2 separate regions of the Homo sapiens genome follow, and region 2 is linked to region 1. The links are contacts of gene promoters, found by promoter capture Hi-C in human tissues and cell types (Jung and others, 2019). All regions are on one chromosome and are shown on one strand. Each heading gives the region's core, a stretch centred on a gene start or on the middle of the fragment in contact. The rest is flanking DNA. Distances are from core to core; before and after follow the strand shown.

Region 1 (6,427 bases), core at 2,345-4,844:
CACCTGGGCACTCCCTGCCGCCCCCAGAACCCCTCAGACTTCCTCTTGATCCAGCACCTAAATGGTTAATCTCCAGCACAGCTATTGGCATCAGTTCTGTGGTTAAATATTTTGGTATCACTCCCTGTTCAGGCTCCAGTGATACCCGGGTATCCCTTCCCTCTCTTCCCATCTTCTCCTTGGGAGTAAGTGGCTTTGAAGTTAGGAGGACAAGGGGTTCACTCTGGTTCCCTCACTAGAAAGACATCATCTTGAATTCACCTTCTCCCCTCTCCCAGGAGACTGGTCTCTGTGCTGACTTCCACCCGAGTGGGGCAGTTGTGGCCGTAGGACTGAACACGGGGAGGTGAGAGAGAGCCAGGACTCCCAGGAGGGAAAGCAGGGAGGACTGGGAAGGGTTCCTGGTACTGGGGGAGTGGGCGAGAGTGACCACCTCTACCCAGGAGCCACCTGCGCCTTGGCACTCCTCTGTGCCTCTCCCTGCAGCCCCTGCCACCCGGGCTCCCCTCCTCTTCTGTGGTAACTGTTTCTCCCCCTCCCCCAACCCAGTGTCTCCTCCAAGCCTGGGAGTGGAGGAGGCAGCAGCCCAGGATAGAGAAACAGTGGGAATGGGAGGGGCATAGACAAACACAGGGAAGTGACAGGCTTCCAGCTTGCACAGTGCCTTTGTAGTCGGCCCCTGGTCTGTAGTTTCAGATTACTTTTTCAGACGACATCAGAAGCCCCTCAGCCTTTATCCACACTTAGCTCCTTCCCATTTCTCAGCATAAGAATGCAGTGGTGGCCAGGTGCGGTGGCTCACGCCTGTAATCCTAGCGCTTTGGGAGCTGAGGCGGGTGGATCACTTGAGGTCAGGAGTTCAAGACCAGCCTGGCCAACATGGTGAAACCTCGTCTCCACTAAAAATACAAAAATTAGACGGGCATGGTGGTACGCACCTGTAATTCTAGCTACTCAGGAGGCTGAGGCATGAGAATCACTTGAACCCAGGAGGTGGAGGTTGCGTTGAGATCTTGCCACTGCACTCCAGCCTGGGTGACAGAGTGAGACTCTGTCTCAAAACAACAACAACAACAACAACAAACTAAAAAAGAAGAATGCAGTTGTGACCTGTCTTCTACATCAGAGCCTTTCTGTGTGTGTCTCTGAGCTTCTCTTATTTGCCATCCCCAAGCCTACCCAGGGTGGCCTCCCTGGGGGTCTCCTTACATCCTGCCTTTTCGTCTTCCTATCTGCCTCCACTTCCCTCCCTTCCAGGTGGTTGGTTTTGGACACAGAGACCAGAGAGATCGTGTCTGATGTCATTGATGGCAATGAGCAGCTCTCAGTGGTCCGGTACAGCCCAGGTGGGAGCCACCCCAACCCTGGACTCACATGCGTCCCTGGCCCTTCCCTCTCTGAGTGACTGTATTTGCAGATGGGTTGTACCTGGCCATTGGTTCCCATGACAACGTGATCTACATCTATAGTGTTTCCAGTGATGGTGCCAAATCCAGCCGCTTTGGCCGCTGTATGGTGAGGAAGTTGGGGTGTGTGGTGGGGCATGATAACAGCTGCGAAACTCAGGGGTCTGATGCATCAAGGGGGCTCTGGGGATGGGAAATGGATGGGATACTTTAAAACTCTTGACCTTTGCTCCCAGGGTCACTCCAGCTTCATCACTCATCTTGACTGGTCCAAGGATGGGAATTTCATCATGTCCAATTCTGGGGACTATGAGATTCTTTACTGTGAGTGGCAGTGGAGCAGGACATGGGGAGAGGGTAATTGGAGTGGGTTTTGTGTAGGGGGGGCTGTTAGAGGTGTTGTTAGATAAGGAAGTGGAGATGGGGTTAAAGTGGAGTTGGAATTATATGTAGGAGAAATTTCGTGATTTGGAAACAACTAGTTTCACACCATGTCTTGTTGACTTGAGGGAGTTCAAAAATGCGCTAAGAAAAGATTGTTTGGGAAAAGTTTCTCAGGGCAAGTGTGGAGCACTTGACTTATCTAGGGAGGAGGAACTCGTGGAAGCTGTTAGAACTTCAGCCAGAGCTCAGGACAGGACGCACACAGGGTGGGTTTCACAGGGGGAGGAGGTGATGCTACTACGGTGACCAGATCACATGCCATCGCCGGGTTTCATGCCAGTCTTTCCAGTCTGGCTTTCCCTGGCATCTTCCCTACTGAGGGCAGGGTGAGAGCTGAGCTGGGCGGGCTCCCTCTCCCCAGGGGACGTGGCTGGAGGCTGCAAGCAGCTGAAGAATCGCTATGAGAGCCGAGACCGGGAATGGGCTACCTACACCTGTGTGCTGGGCTTTCACGTCTACGGTGAGCAGGGGCGTGGAAACCTGCTGGAAGGGTGGGGGACAAGGTGGAGCCCAGTTTGGGCTTGGAACGCTGGGCGTGTGTCGTTGGGTGAGAGTCCAGAAACCTGAAGATCCAGCCCAGGAGGCCCCTCGGGACCGGGAAGGCTTGCCTGGAACGCGGCAGTGGGTGGCCGCGGCTGCCGGAGCGCCTGAAATGGTGTAGCTCTGGGCCGTGGGTGGCGGTGGGTAGGAGGTCGGGCTGAGGCCGGCCGCTGTGCTAGGCGTCTGGCCGGACGGCTCCGATGGGACCGACATCAACTCCCTGTGCCGCTCCCACAACGAGCGCGTGGTGGCGGTGGCCGACGACTTCTGCAAAGTGCATCTCTTCCAGTACCCGTGCGCTCGTGCCAAGGTGAGGCCGCGGGGATCGCCGGGGTGGGACCGGTGGGCCCGAGGGCTCAGCCGCCACCGCAACTCTTCCCTCCGGCCCAGGCGCCGAGCCGCATGTACGGGGGCCACGGCAGCCACGTGACCAGCGTCCGATTCACGCACGACGACTCGCACCTCGTCTCGCTGGGCGGCAAGGACGCCAGCATCTTCCAGTGGCGAGTGCTGGGCGCTGGGGGCGCGGGGCCGGCGCCCGCCACGCCCTCTCGAACCCCCTCCCTGTCCCCCGCCTCCTCCCTCGACGTTTGATCGCTGCCTGGCGGGACCGACTGGCCCGGCGGCGTGGCCCCGCCCCGCCCTGCCCTTCCCTGGCCCAATCCCCCACGACTAGGGGCCGACTCTTTCCTGGACTGACTTCGAGACATTCCCGATCGCGCATTTTCCTGGAGGGCGCGAACGGCGCCCCTGCACACACTGTTTAGACCCGCTGGCTGAGCCGGGCAGCCCCAGCCTAGGCCTTGACTCCCGCTGCCTGCTGAGGGGCAATAAACCAGAACCAAAGTCGCCTCCCGGTGCTTTTGTGGGGCGCTGCCGGGCGCCTCCGGGGCTCTGTGGGGTGGGGACGAAGGAAAAGAGGCGTGCGGAAAGGGTAAGGGAGCGTAGACCATTTATGCAAATGACAGGCAAAGCCGCTTGCAAATAACCTGGCGAAGCGCTAAGGCGCGCGAGTCTTTGGGGCGCGAGGAGGAGCTGCAGGGCTCCAGCGAGGACAGAGTTAAGCCCGACTCCTCTCCCGCCCTCGGAAAAGGGGGTGGGGCCGAGCTGCGACGGAAATAGCCGAGCGGTTGCCCGACAGGAGCCGAACTTCTTCCGGAAGTAGCCGATCTGCGGGGTCTCGCTCTCCGACCTGAGCCGAGCAGTGGGCCTTGTTCTCCGGATCGGCCGAAGGTGTTCCGGAAGGAGGCGAACCCTGAGGCGGGCCCGGCAAGCCTTCCCTGCGGCCGGCAGAGCCCAACGACTAGTGGGACTCCGCGGGGGCGGGGGTAGCTGGAGCCTGGCTCTGGCCTGGCAGGAGCCGAGCTCGTTCCGGAAGAAGCCGAGCGGACGGGGGCCAGCCTCAGCGTCCCGGGAGTGAGGCGATAGCTGCGGCGGCGACAGCGCGGGCCGGGATGAACCGCGACGGCTGAGGCAGCGGAGGTGCCGGCTGCGCGGGCCCCAGTGAGACTCCCTCGAAGCGGCAGCCCACCGTTCGGGGCTTTGCCTCGAGCCGAGCCCTGCCCCCGCGAGCCTCCCGGACCCCTTTGTGCGGCCGGAGGCGGCGGCGGGAACGGCCATGGCGGCCAACATGTACCGGGTGGGAGGTGAGTACCGGGCGCAGGGATACGGGGCCCGGGGCGGGAGAGGTTGGGGTAGGGACCTGAGGGGCTCGGCACCGGGTGGCGCGAGGCGCAGCGTATGGGGCAGCGTGGACCGGAGCGCGGACCGGAACCGGAACCGGGAGACGAGGAGAGAGGGTGCGGGGAACCGCGACGCGGCAGGGCTCCGAGACTCCCAGAGAGAAGCTGCGGGCAGCCCCGACGGCACTTTCGGGGCTGCGTCAGGGGCTCCCCGGGGCACGGAGTGGCCTTCGGAACCGGTTCCGAAGGAGCTGACAGGGTAGGGAGGGAACGCGAGGGGCTGGGGCGACGGCTTTGCCACCGCGGGGGAGCCGCCCGGAGGTTTCCTCTTCCCAGGCGTTATTGTGCGCCTCGATTCGAAAAGGTAGGGGCCCTGCGCTAGAGCGGACAATTACTTCGCCGCGACTGGGGTGCAACTCATCGCTGAGTTGTGGGGACTGCAGGGGAACCCCTGCTTCTTGCCTGTTCCTTAAGGCTCTCTTTTGAGTAAAGGATCTAATTTTAGAACTAGGTGCGGTGGGGATGGGGGACATCCTTATTTTCTCTTAGTCTGTCCACTTTCACATCTCAGCGCCCTTTCTACCTGAATCCTTATCTCCTTTTGATCCACTCAGGCCAACTTTCTCTCCTACCCTGGTGCTCTGCGTCTCCCATCTCCTCTGATCTTCGTGGTTCTCCCCCCTCCCTTCCCTTACAGATTACGTCTATTTTGAGAACTCTTCCAGCAATCCTTACCTGGTTAGACGGATTGAGGAGCTCAACAAGGTGAGTGGAGCAGAATCCCTCTCCCTCCCTCCCGCAGTGGTCTCTTCTGAGGTTTCTAACTTCTGGTGGAAGAGAGGATCCTATACTAAGTACCCATTCATATTCGTTCATTCATTCATTGGATGTATTCAGGAAAGGCTATTGAGAGGTTAGCAGGAACTTTACTATTCTGTCTCTTGGGGGCAAAGGAAAGGGATTTGGAAGTCTATCCTTGAATGTAAGTCTTTACTCATATTTTCTTGGGCTTTTTAATTTAGGTCCCTCTGAAACTTACTGTTATTTGTCTCTTTGTGCATTTCTGTTCCCAGATGATCAATTTCCACTGCTACGTTGTTTTGTTTTTGTTTTTTTCCTCCCCTTAGACTGCAAATGGAAATGTGGAGGCAAAGGTTGTCTGTCTTTTCCGGCGCAGGGACATTTCTAGTAGCCTCAACAGCCTGGCTGATAGTAATGCCAGTGAGTATCTTCCTCCCTTTCTTTTTCTCCTACCCATGATCTGAGGCCTGGGCATGTCCCTGCAGGTATTTCCCCTGGTAGCATGCCCAAGGCAGAGGTGTGAGTTTGGGGGTGGGAAATGCCTGGCCTGAGGAGGGAGGCCTGTTTTTACATGTTGGGGTTGGAAGCAGGGTGGAGAGATTGTGATAAGGAAAGCGATAATATGGTTTGTATATGAGAGTAAGAGAGAGATGATAACATTTAGAGTATGAGGACGAGCTTTAGAGAAACAATGGTTTTCTAAAGGGGGGCAGTTTGGGGTACATTGAGACAGTAGGTGATGACTGAAGGTCAACGTGAAGAGGAAGACATTGTACTGAGAAGCCTGCGTAACAGAGAAGCAGGCTTATTTTGTAATCACAAGGTGATGAGAGTACCTGGAAGTTAGAAGATGGCTGGAAGTTTTCTTGCGCTTTTTAATTTCTCACCTCGCCCATTTCCCCGCCCGCCCCCCTCCATTTTACATCTTTCCCTTTTCATTTTGCCCTATCTTCATTCTCTTTAAGGTCTCATCTTCTTTTTTTAAAAAACATATTTTCCTTAGCTTCTTTTTCCTTTCCTGCTTTGGTTTTCTTTTTCCTTCCTTTTGTTCCACCTTTCTAAATTATTTTCCTTTTTCAGACTGCTCTGGGTGAGAAGGGGTTAAAGAGGAGCCCAGCTTACCAAGTTCCTTGGCCCTTTAGGGTTTCCAGCCCCATCTGGCAGGGGCTGACCTTGGCCTTGTCCAATCAGAAGGGGTGTTGGGGGTGTGGTCCCCCTTGCCTCAGCACAGGGTTTCCGGAGCACACAAGCGAGGGGTGGAGCCTACTGCACAACCCCCCCCTTCTCCCTGAGGTTGGGAACAATACACCAATGAGCCTGGGGCTGAGGTTCTTCTGCTCCCTCCCACTTTGGTTGGCGCCTAGCCAGGTTAACCCCTTCCGCTAGGTTTCAGGGCAAGCTGCAGCTCCTTGGGGAGGAAGGTGTTGGCACTGGCTTGAGAGGTGTTGTCCTTGGAAACCCCAGGAACTATTATTAGCCAAGTAGAAAATGAGGGATAGTTAGGGCTGCATGTGATGTTTTAGAGCAAAGAGTCTCCTGAAATTGAAAAGAACT
Region 2 (6,427 bases), core at 109-2,608, 790 kb after region 1:
AACCCGCTCCAGTTCCCTTACAGGCTGTGGAAGCATTGTTCTTTTGCTCGTCACACTAAACCTTGCTGCTGCTCATTCTTTGGGTCTGCAAAGAGTGTTATTCCTTTAAGAGCTATAACAGCGGGAAGGTCCACGGCTCCATTCTTGAAGTCAGTGAGACCATACCCGCCGGAAGGAACCAACGCCCGACACAGCCCCACCCATCTCTCCTGTTTCTCACCTATACTGAAATTCTTGGGCAAAAGCTGTCTGTGGACACACCCAGGGGAAAGGCCAGCCCAGGCAGGTGTTTCTTAGTGGTTCCCCTCAGCCAATGCTTCCCATTCCTTGATGCATCCTTCTAACTAGAGCAGATACTCGGTGATCTTAAACTGTGGACACCTGGGAGCACCCTCAAAAGGCAGCTGGGCCTAGGGAGATGGCCTGTGCTTCTGTGTCAGGAGTTGGTTCCTTCAGGTGGGCTCGTGGTCTCGCTGACGTCAAGAATGAAGCCATGAACCTTCGCGGTGAGTGTTACAGCTCTTACAGGTGGCGTGGACCCAAAGAGTGAGCAGCAGCAAGATTTATTGTGAAGAGCAAAGAACAAAGCTTCCACAGCGTGGAAGGGTACCCGAGCAGGTTGCCGCTGCTGGACGTTGGGGGGTGTGAGGGGGAGCAGCCTTTTTTTTTTTTTTTTTTTTTGAGACGGAGTCTCCCTGTCGCCCAGGCTGGAGTGCAGTGGCGCGATCTCGGCTCACTGCAGGCTCCGCCCTCCCCCGGGGTTCACGCCATTCTCCTGCCTCAGCCTCCCGAGTAGCTGGGACTACAGGCGCCCGCTACCTCGCCCGGCTAATTTTTTGTATTTTTAGTAGAGACGGGGTTTCACTGTGTTAGCCAGGATGGTCTCGATCTCCTGACCTCGTGATCCACCCGCCTTGGCCTCCCAAAGTGCTGGGATTACAGGCGTGAGCCACCGCGCCCGGCCGGGAGCAGCTTTTATTCCCTTATTTGTCCCTGCCCATGTCCTGCTGATTTGTCCATTTTATAGAGCACTGATTGGTCCATTTTACAGGGTGCTGATTGGTCCATTTTACCTCTAGCTAGCTAAAGAGCACGGATTGGTGCATTTTACAAACCTCTAGCTACAGAAAAGTTCTCCAAGTCTGCACTCGACCCAGGAAGTCCATCTGGCTTCACCTCTCACTTCAACTTGGGTACAGCCTTCTGGCGGGCAGGAGGATGGCCTTTGGTGCGAACACTGCCGGAGTCCAGGGGGCTGGCTCCCTCACCTTTCATCTTCTCCCGGCACTTGCAGGATCCCTTTGTGGCCTTCCACATCAACAAGGGCCTTGTGAAGAAGTATATGAACTCTCTCCTGATTGGAGAACTGTCTCCAGAGCAGCCCAGCTTTGAGCCCACCAAGAATGTAAGACCCTGTGTTTGCTATGTCGCAACTATTGGTTGTTGAGGGGGACAGAGAGGGGGTGGAAGGAGAGTCTAGATGGGATCACAGTCATAGTAATCACAGTCAGTAGTAGCTCTGGGGAGTCTTGAGGTCCCTGCTTCTCTTGCATAGTCATGAGGTCACAGGCCCAAGGGAGCATGGCTTTGCAACCTATGGCTCCCCCAAGGCTGCCACTACCATGGCTGCCATCATTGTTATCATCATTGTTATCATATGAGCACTTACTATGCACCAAGCATAAACTCATAACTCTTACACATTTACAGATGAGATAACAGGCTCAGGGAGGTTAAGCAACACAGCCAAGGATCACACAGTTAGTAAATGGCAGAGCAAGGACTTAGTCCCCTGAACTCTTAGGCACTATCCCATGGCACCTCCTCCTGTCATCCTCATTGTCGTGGTATCTTTGCCTAGGACTGTGGACTTCCCACAGCTACCTCAGTGGGAGGTCCTTGAGCCTGAGAGGGCCCTTGTCTCCAGTAGCATTGGGGTGCAGATGAGAAGAATAACAGCTCCTCTTCCTCTTCTGCAGAAAGAGCTGACAGATGAGTTCCGGGAGCTGCGGGCCACAGTGGAGCGGATGGGGCTCATGAAGGCCAACCATGTCTTCTTCCTGCTGTACCTGCTGCACATCTTGCTGCTGGATGGTGCAGCCTGGCTCACCCTTTGGGTCTTTGGGACGTCCTTTTTGCCCTTCCTCCTCTGTGCGGTGCTGCTCAGTGCAGTTCAGGTGAGAGCCTTTGGCTTGTCAAGTGCACAGCAATGCTCAGCATCCCTGGGGAAAGCTCCTTGGGTGTTTGAGGAAGGCCAAGAGTGCCTGCCCTCCAAGCAGGGCAGATCTGAAGGTATGCAGGAGTGAGTGCAGGAACATGCATTCTGCTGTCTTGACCTGTCTGCTCTTTAGCCACATGGACATCTTCATTTCTCTCACTGCCTTTTTAGCTGCTTCTCCAAGGGTTCTCTTCTTCCTATGCGGTTTGTTCTCTGCCACAGCCCACCTGTGCCAGGAGCCAAGTTTCTGGTTTCTTAGCAAAGCTTGGCTCCCTCCCCACCACTGACATTGCCCAATATGTTAATAATGATTGAGCGCTAATTCTTGACTGTCAGGACCCATTTGGCAAGCCTTCTGCTCATGTTTCAGTCCTTTCTGTATTCTAGATGTCAGTCCATCATAAGTCATGAGCTTCAGGCCAGGTGTGGTGACTCATGTCTGTAATCCTAGCACTTTGGGAGGCCAAGGTGGCCGGATCACTTGATCTCAGTTCAAGACCAGCCTGGCCAACGTGGTGAAACCTCTACTAAAAATACAAAAAGGCCAGGCACAGTGGCTCACGCCTGTAATACCAGTACCTTGGGAGGCCAAGATGGGCAGATCATTTGAGGTGAGGAGTTCAAGACCACCTGGCCAACATGGTGAAACCCCGTCTCTATTAAAATACAACAGTTAGCTGGGAGTGGTGGTGGGTGCCTGTAATCCCAGCTACATGGGAGGCTGAGGCAGGAGAATTGCTTGAACCTGGGAAGCGAAGGTTGCAGTGAGCCGAGTTGGCACCATTGCACTCCAGCCTGGGCAACAGAGCGACACTCTCAAAACAGGCCAGGTATGGTGGCTCACGCCTGTTATCCCAGCAGTTTGGGAGGCCAAGGTGGGCAGATCACCTGAGGTCAGGAGTTCGAGACCAGCCTGGCTAACATGGTGAAACCTCGACTCTTACTAAAAATACAAAAAAATCAGCCAGGCTTGGTGGCGGGCACCTGTAATCCCAGCTACTTGGGAGGCTGAGGCAGGAGAATTACTTGAACCCAGGAGGCGGAGGTTGCAGTGATCTGAAACCGCACCATTGCACTCCAGCCTGGGCAACAAGAACAAAACTGTCTCAAAAAAAAAAAGTCATGAGCTTCGGAGCTGGCGAAACAGAAGAACAGAGAAGGGATGGTGATTTGCCCCAACTCACGTGTGAGTCAGTGGCAGAGGCAGAACTAGGACCCATGTTTCCTGACTCCTGAGGTGCATCACAGGCCTTGGCAGATGAAGGAAGTGGGAGAGGCTGAAGGAGGCATCGAGGTCAGTGAAGGCGACACTGGGGCTGGTGGGCTGCTCTCAGTGTTGACTCTTCTCACCTAGGCCCAGGCTGGCTGGCTGCAGCATGACTTTGGGCACCTGTCGGTCTTCAGCACCTCAAAGTGGAACCATCTGCTACATCATTTTGTGATTGGCCACCTGAAGGTCAGTGGGATGGGGAGGAGCTCTCTAAAACTCCAGGCAATGAAGGGCTGCCTTGGGGGAAGCTTTTCATACTCGTGTCCCTGCTTTTCTGTAGGGGGCCCCCGCCAGTTGGTGGAACCACATGCACTTCCAGCACCATGCCAAGCCCAACTGCTTCCGCAAAGACCCAGACATCAACATGCATCCCTTCTTCTTTGCCTTGGGGAAGATCCTCTCTGTGGAGGTGCGTGGAGGTATCAGTGGAAAGGTCTTGGGGAATAGGAGGCAGCCAACATAGGGGAGTTGGGGAAGATGCCCACGATGTTGTCAGTGTGGGCAAGACACTGGGGCTGGGCTGGCTGGGGCTTTTGCCATTTTGGAAGTTCTGGAAGGCAACAGGCAATAGATGGGGGCTGCCCAGGAGGGAGTCACCATCCTCCCTAGAGAGTTCAGTCAGCAAACCGTTACTGCATAAAAGGCACCTCATTTTGCAAAGGATCCAGCGGATGACCAGAAGGATCCAAATGATGAGATAGCCTATCCTTGAAGGTGCTGATGGCACCTCCTGGAGGTGCTTTTTTGACACTCTTGCCCCAGGCAAGTATTCCCCTTGCACTTTGTATTTCTCTCCCACACTTAGGTATCCTTCTTGTCACAGTCTTCTCTGTCCAGGGCTGGACTGTCTTACTCTTCTTTCATGTCCAATATCTGGAACATTCATTCACTGAGTACTTCTTCCCACCCTGCTGATCCCCAGCCTGATTTCCTGGGTGGTCAGCGTTGGGTTTGAGATGTCGTCTGAAGTTGTAAGCAGAAATAATGTAGCTGCTGAAGGAATAATGCCTGGGGGTGGAGATCTGGTGAGCTTTTAGTGAGCATTAGGCAATGGAAGGTTCTAAAAGGCCAGCAGAATTCTTTGAAAAGTTCATTTAAAGCCCTTTGTCCCAAGGCTGTAGGCTGCAGAGTTCTTCCAGGTCCACCTCCTCCACTTTGTGACATTTCAGCTTGCGAGGAATTAAATTGTCGTTAAAACACATTTCAGTTCTAGGCATGAGTTCAAGGTAGCCTGGCGTTCCTCTCGCCCCTGGCCATGAGAACTTTGAAAGGGCTTTGGCAGCACTGGTTGGCCTGGCATGAGGAGCTCATAGCTTGAGGCTCATGCCCCACCTGTCCATAATGTTCTTATTTTCCCATCATGAGCATGGACTTGGGTTTGTTACATGTCCGATACCATTATGGTCAGTACTATGCAGATGACGAAGCAGCCCTGTCCCCCGTCTGACTCCCATGGCTGCTTCAAGGGCAGTGTGGTTATTTGCTGGGCAGTGGCATGGGGCTTGTGCATTTCTACTGTCACTACAGAGGGTTTAAAAAAAAGACATGGGCAGGTTAAGTGGAAGGGAACAGTCTCACACCACTACCTTTATTGCTTCTTGGTACTTGGGTTTTCAGGAAATTCCTATCAGCAGACATCAAAAACAGAGAATGAAGGGACGCAGTTGGCATGTGCCTGTGGTCCCAGCTACTTGGGAGGCTGAGGTGGGAGCATCGCTTGAGCCCAGGAGGTGAAGGCTGCAGTGAGTATGATCACGCCACTGCACTCCAGCCTGGGTAACAGCGCAACCCTGTGTGTAAAAATAATAATTTTTTAAAAAGATTAAAACCAAAAAAAAATTGTAAACAGAGTTCAACGTAACTTACAGATTAAAAACAGTAAAATATGACAGAAACTGAGAGGTAGTCATGATCAGATATGGCCTCCTTCGGGTGCCGACATCTGAACTGAGACCTGAATGATGAAAAGGGCCAACACTGCAAAAATTCAGGGAAGGAACATTTGGAACAGAGAGAACAGTCAAGTACAGAGGCTCCCGGATGTTCAGGGACAGTAAGCAATGAGAGAATGAGAAGACCAGAAAACTAGGGAGGGGCCAGATCATGTAGGGCCTTAGAAAGCCATGGTAAGGGTGTGGTAAGAAGTTTGGGTTTTATTCCAATAGCAATGGGGAGTCACAGGAGGGTTTCTGGTGGGTACAGCAATCTGCTTTGCACTTTAAAAGGCTTGCTCTGGCTGGAGGTGGAGAGGATGAATTATAGAGGGTAGGTATAATCACAGATATAACCTCAGTGAGGCGGCTGGAGCGAGTCCAGACCAGACCACGGAGGAGCAGGTGAAGCCAATGGATTTGGGATATGTTTTGGAGGCAGTGTAAGCAACGCTTGCTGAGGACCTGGATGTGGTGGTGAGAATCACCCCATCTCGAGCAACATTAACTGAGGAAAAAATTGAAAAAGGGGCGCCCTTGCTTGGGGGCTTCCTATTGTGGAACTGTTATGGAAAGGAGCCCCATCCATTGCTTCCTCCTTGAATGGCAAATGCCTTTATGATCCCTATAACTTGTCCCATTATGTTTAGACCCTTGGTGGTCAGAAGGGTTCTATTTAGGGCAGTGTCCCCTGCCCCTCCTTGTCCTCCAAAAATTTTGGGAGGCACTGACGTGGATGTCATGGGGTCAGCACAGGCATCAACATCCCCAGAGGGATGGAACCAAGCAGCCTATTGCCCAGGCATTCACTAACAGGCAGCCCATCCTCAGCCTCATAGCTGGCCGGGGAGAAGAAAGGCTATTTTGGGTCCCAGATCTTTTTTTTTTTTTTTGAGACAGAGTCTCGCTCTGTCACCCAGGCTGAAGTGCAATGGTGCGGTCTCAGCTCACTACAACCTCCGCCTCCCGAGTTCAAGAGATTCTCCTGCCTCAGCCTCCTGAGTAGCT

The links. The method cuts DNA at HindIII sites, captures the fragments that hold promoters and counts their contacts. A contact is called where the count stands out against the background at its distance.
Region 2: a fragment that was not itself captured here is called in contact with the fragment with the promoter of MTA2 in region 1 in 1 of the 25 tissues and cell types used here (dorsolateral prefrontal cortex).

The regions. Positions count from the first base shown.
Region 1 is chr11:62,599,032-62,605,458 of GRCh38, reverse strand. It overlaps MTA2 (metastasis associated 1 family member 2), which reads left to right and starts at 3,594. Exons shown (of 18, transcript NM_004739.4): 1 at 3,594-4,036; 2 at 4,770-4,837; 3 at 5,200-5,293. The coding sequence starts at 4,009. It overlaps EML3 (EMAP like 3), which reads left to right. Exons shown (of 22, transcript NM_153265.3): 16 at 279-346; 17 at 1,258-1,346; 18 at 1,418-1,515; 19 at 1,643-1,730; 20 at 2,212-2,310; 21 at 2,570-2,700; 22 at 2,781-3,241. The coding sequence ends at 2,984. RefSeq lists enhancers at 1,881-2,590, 3,099-3,148, 4,529-4,578, 4,013-4,723, 6,317-6,427 and silencers at 3,899-3,948, 4,019-4,118, 4,199-4,278. The HindIII fragment of the contact is 13,173 bases long and covers 1-6,427 here.
Region 2 is chr11:61,808,221-61,814,647 of GRCh38, reverse strand. FADS1 (fatty acid desaturase 1) reads left to right here. Exons shown (of 12, transcript NM_013402.7): 2 at 1,295-1,405; 3 at 1,980-2,177; 4 at 3,573-3,674; 5 at 3,769-3,897. Among named protein-coding and RNA genes, the nearest start is that of MIR1908, 3.8 kb to the left of the region's middle. The HindIII fragment of the contact is 3,503 bases long and covers 1-3,109 here.